2 separate regions of the Homo sapiens genome follow, and region 2 is linked to region 1. Evidence: promoter capture Hi-C in human tissues and cell types (Jung and others, 2019). All regions are on one chromosome and are shown on one strand. The core of a region is centred on a gene start or on the middle of the fragment in contact, and the rest is flanking DNA. Distances in the headings are between cores, read along the strand shown.

What was found. The method cuts DNA at HindIII sites, captures the fragments that hold promoters and counts their contacts. A contact is called where the count stands out against the background at its distance.
Region 2: a contact is called between a fragment that was not itself captured here and the fragment with the promoter of MED12L in region 1, in 1 of the 25 tissues and cell types used here (bladder).

Annotation. Positions count from the first base shown.
Region 1 is chr3:151,084,262-151,086,961 of GRCh38, reverse strand. MED12L (mediator complex subunit 12L) reads right to left here and starts at 1,298. Exons shown (of 45, transcript NM_001393769.1): 1 at 1,026-1,298; 2 at 1-164. The coding sequence starts at 35. RefSeq lists silencers at 546-840, 1,277-1,646. The HindIII fragment of the contact is 7,662 bases long and covers 1-2,700 here.
Region 2 is chr3:151,398,344-151,401,043 of GRCh38, reverse strand. The region is part of intron 39 of MED12L (mediator complex subunit 12L); the gene reads right to left. Among named protein-coding and RNA genes, the nearest start is that of P2RY12, 15 kb to the right of the region's middle. The HindIII fragment of the contact is 5,079 bases long and covers 1-2,700 here.

The DNA of each region.
Region 1 (2,700 bases), core at 49-2,548:
CTCTGCTCATAGCTGAGAAGCCCGAAGGCGGCCATGATCTCTCATGTTAACCGGCGAAATGAATGAGAGTTGGAGCTGGAGCAGCCGCCTCTGAGCACCAGGGAGCAGCACTTTGCAGACAGACTCCCTCTCTCCCCCTCCTCGCTCGCTCGCTCGCTGTGGCGCTGCAGGCAGGAGGAATAAAGCAGGTTGGATGCTGCCGCTGCCCGGCAGCAGACACGCACTGATGGGGACAGCCTTCGGCGGGTACTCGGCTGCGCTCGAGCCCCGGGACGCACCGCTCCGGTGGCGGCGGCGGAGGGACTAGAGGTCGGCCAGGGTCCTCCGCGGCGCCTGCCTCCTCTGCTCCCCCCTACCTTGTCTCCAGGGGGAGGAGCAGCTGATGGGAACGTGTGACTTTTTTCACCAATGGACCCAAACCCACCCCAGCTGGGCGCAGGATGGGGGTGGGGGTGGGGCACTGGAAAAAAAAAAAAAAAAACTTTTCTTGGCGCCTAGGCTGGTGGCTGAAGTGCTCGCCCAAGGCGAGGGTGGCCCTCCCCTCCCGGGAAGAAGCTGTGGAGCGGACCGCCCCCGCCTCTCTTCCCCGGCAGGGACCCTTCCCCCGCCGCCACGCGCCCCGCAGACCCCGCCACCTGGACACGGACCGGGCCAGTGCAGGCAGAGGCAGGTCTGGAGGGGGCGCGAGACGCAGGGATGCGGCCGGTGGGAAGCGGCCGGTGCCTCCTAGACGCCCGCCAGGTTCCAGTGGCGCATCCGCAGCTACGGTCCCCTCGGCGGCTCCGGGCAGGCGCCGAGGCGCGCTGCTGGCGGTCGCGGCGGCTGGAGGGGGCCGTGCTCACGGTGGCGTGGGGCCGACTTAACCCTTTACAGTCCCTCCAGGGGCTGGGGAAGGGGGTGAGGAGCGATGGCTGTGAGCGCCGACGGGGGCAGCCAGCCCGCAGGCGTCTCGGGCTCCTCCAGCCCGCCGCCTCCCCACGGCCCCAGCTCCTCTTCCCTTCCGCCCCCAACCCCCAACACTTTACCTGTTGGTCCGCGGCTAGCGGGCTGGGGCTGGCGGCGGCGGGGTCACTCCGGCCGCCGCAGCCTCCATCATTCGGGTTGGGATGGGGGACTTGGATTTGATTTTATTTGTGCGGTATCTGCCTCGCCCGGACGAGCTCCGGGAACGCCGCGAAGTTTGCCACTGTCTGGGGGCGGCGAGCGACGCCGGCTCGCCGCCGGCGTTCTCGCCCCCACGGCCCGGGAGCGCGAGCTTCCGAGTTGGCGGACGGCGGCGCGGCGTCCGCACTGAGCATGCCCAGCTCGGCGGCCGGACCGCGGAGGAGTTGGCTGAGAGCGCGGTGAGCGCGCTCCAATCCGCCTCTCCGGGTTTTCGCAGCCGCAGAGCGCGCAGCCCGCGGGCCCCGGCGCCGAGGCTGGCCCTGGGGTGAACCTGGGCGAGGGAGGGAGCGCCCTCTGGAGCCCTGCTCCAAGCCCCCCGCTGCACCCTCCGCCTCGACCTCCCCAGAGGTCGCGGTCCCCGTGGCCTGGGCCGAAAACCTCACCTGCGCCGGGAGCGTGGAAGGGGCGGGGGGGGTGATCCTCCAGGGCAGACCTTGGTCATCCAACCCGCCCTCGCTCCTCGCTTCGGGGCGCGGGCACCAAGATGCTGGGCCACCTGGCGCGAGCTCTGCGAGACCGGAGCCGCGGAGGCGGGCTCGGCCTGTCCTGAGGGACCCCGCGGGAGGCGTGCCCGGGAGAATGCGCCCGCACTTGGCCAAGAATGATGGCTGCCATTTATGGAGCCTTCGCTACGTGCCAGGATCTTGATAGTCAGAATCTCTGGTCCTTACAACCTTCCACGGTCTTACTGTACCCTTTTTATGGATGGAGAAATTGAGCCAGCTCAGAGAGGACCACTCACTTGCCGAAAGCCACGAAACGAGTCGGAATTTGAACCCACGACTGATTCTAAGTTTCTGACCTGTTTTCCCTGACTTGGACTTGGAGGGACTGGGTTCCTAACCTGTCCTTGCCTGATGGACTCACGTTCTCCACGGCTTGAGGCATTCTCGGCCTTCCCTCTCTGTAAGGTGGTAAAGGCAGATTCTAACCGGAAGCCTTTGATACATAGTAGGTGCTCTGGAAATGCTGGTTGAATCTGAACATCAACTTTGATGTTCGTTGACATTTAAGCAAAGGGGGAAGAAGGAGATAAATAAAGTGAAGGTAATGTGGTAGAGGCTAGTTCCTCACTCCTGATCCTGACCTGTGAGCACCTCCAAACCCAGTTTGAGGCTGAGTCAGGTGTTTAGCTTTTGGCTTCCTTAATCTGAACAATTACTTCTAGAGAGCATTTACCTAACTTCACTGGAGGGCATTTCCTGACCACCTTCCCCATCTTGCCCCAGGGTCTTCTCTTCCACTAATATCCTGGGATTAATTTCATGGCTGGACTTGCCCTTGTGATACAGGCATCTATCAAATGTAGCTCCCTTGTTTGAAAGAAAGGACAGTTTTTTGTTGTTGTTGTTTTCTTTGTTTGGTTGGTTGGTTGTTTTTTGAGACAGAGCCTCGCTCTGTCGCCCAGGCTGGAGTGCAGTGGCGAGATCTCGGCTCACTGCAAGCTCCGCCTCCTGGGTTCACGCCATTCTCCTGCCTCAGCCTCCCGCGTAGCTGGGGCTACAGGCGCCCGCCACCACGCCCGGCTAATTTTTT
Region 2 (2,700 bases), core at 167-2,666, 310 kb before region 1:
GTATAGATTAGAAGTATAAAAACATGCATAAGAAAGTAAAATGCTAAATCATGATGGGGATTCCCACTTTAGAAGAAGGGAGGGAAATGATGATACAAGGAGACTCATCCACATCTGTAATTTTTTTTAAAAAAATAATCTACAGCATTATGGAAGAATATTATTTAATAAAGCTAGTAAGTGCATTAGTGATTATTACATTTTTTCTATTCTCGTCTCTATGCTTGAAATATGTATACCATTAAAGAGTGAGTGGGAGGGATAGAGAAAATAAACATATTCCAAGGTGATACCATTTCCTTAGGGTGGGAGATCAATTACCGAACAAAGGGTAATTACTCAATTTAAATGGTAATCCAAGAGCATGTTCCCATGAAGTCACAGATTCATTTTTGCCAAGGAGCTAACAGCTCTGGGAGGTTCTGACTCAGTCATCCTTCATTCTTTAAATTACCTATTTCCTTGATTTGGATACACAAATGATGGGACCTGCTCCACGGTGGATAACCTAACCTCTTTACAAGTCGCTACATGTACTGGTCGCTACATATACTAGCTATAACTGGGCACACATTCCTGTCCTCTGAAAGGAAGCTTCCTCTTTTCTGTCCTGAAAAATCCTTATGATTAATGATCTGTATGGAGCCTATAACCAAGTGCATTTTTTAACCAATTTGTCTGAATCAATTCAAGCTAAACATATCTTCTGTCTATCCTTCTTTGGACTCTTGAAAATATGCTGTCTGGAATTATTACAAAGAAAAATAAAATAATTTAATATACTGAAAGAAAAAATCAGGATAAAGCAACACCATAAATCAAGGCATAAAGTTCTTTTCCTGGGTCAAAACTTTAGATTGCTTCTGCAAGCCCCTTCCCTAGATGTCGATATTGTGAGGGGTATGAAAGTTCCTTAAGGCCTGGCGCGGTGGCTCGCGCCTATAATCCCAGCACTATAGGAGGTCGAGACAGGTGGATCACCTGAGGTCAGGAGTTCGAGACCAGCCTGGCCAACATGGTAAAACACTGTCTCTATTACAAATACAAAAATCAGCCAGGCGGGGTGGTGCATGCCTGTAGTCCCAGCTACTCGGGAGGCTGAGGCAGGAGAATCGCTTGAACCCGGGAAGCAGAGGTTGCAATGAGCGGAGATTAGGCCGCTGCACTCCAGCCTGGGCGACAGAGGGAGACCCTGTCTCAAGAAAAAAAAAAAGAAAGAAGGAATTCCTTAAGATTCCTTCTGCAAGCTCCTTCCCTAGATGATCGATAGAGTGAGGGGGATGGTGAGGTGAGCTGAAAAAAAGTTCCTGTTGTCAAAAGAAAAATACCGAGTATAAGAAAGGAATGAGTGGAAAATAATTAAAGCAGCATTTTGCATTATAACCAATATTCTATATTCTGTGATAGTTCTAACAGAATATGTGAAAAATAAAATACAGTGATACTTTTAACACTGAGATTGGAATAAGTCTCTCAAGTATCACAGTATTTAAAGAACAAAAACACACCACTCTAAGAAGCTAAAATGACAATTAGGATGACAAAACAACATTCCTTTTTATGAGTTTGTTCTATTGGTAACCACTAAGCAAATGAGGATTAAACCAATCCTATTAATGGCAATTTATGTAATTATACAAGTAAACCATTTGATATGCTTTTATTTTAAAGCTTAACATATTTAAGAAAATAATATTGTTATGGGAAATGAATTTCTTTTGAAATAACAAACCATAAAAATACTAATAAGCAGCAACGATAAGTATGACAGCTAACACTTTTTGAGCACTTACTATGAGCCATCCACTGTTCTAAGGGCTGTTTTACACATACTTAATCATTAACTTCACAACTACCCTATAAAGTAAGTACAGTATAGTATTAGCTCCAGTTTATAGATGGGACTCTGAGGCACAGAAAGATAGTGTAACCATTGTACTGAGTCCCATCTAAATACAGGATATTGAGTAAGAAATAGAAATAGTTCTTTTTTTTCAGTAGTCGCCACTTCTCTGCGGTTTCACTTCCCACAGTTTCAGTTACCTGCAGAAAACTGCAGTCCGAAAACAGGTGAGTACAGCACAGTAAGGGATTTTGAAAAAGACGACATTTACATGTTTGTTACAGTATAATTGTTCTATTTTACTATTAGTAAGATATTGTTAGTATCTTACTGAGCCTAATTTATAAATTAAACTTTATCATATAGGTACCTATACATAGGAAAAAACATGGTCCATATCAGGTTTGGTCCTCTGTGGTTTCAGCAATCACTGAAGGTCTTACAACATATTCCCTGTGGATAAGCAGGGTGATAGGACTACTGTATTTTCCTAGATGAAGACTGCAACCAAGAAGAATGAAAACAGGTTTCTTGCCAAAACATCTTTCTGCATGTCCATATGCACTAAAGCTATAGGGAAATATACTCAATTATAACAATTATTACATCAAATAATCTCATTAAAATACTTAACAATATCCATGCTATTCAGCACTTGTTGTCTAGGTACTGTGTTAAACACTGTCTTAACACATTCCTGAGGAAATATAAGACAATCCATGACAGAATATTCCATGACTGACTGAAGCTCATGTACAATCTCTGCAGTGGAACTAGAGGGTTATTTTATGGAATTCTAGTTTTCATTGTGTATCACTGAAGGCTGGATGGTTTCTGCATATGCCAACTTCCCCCAC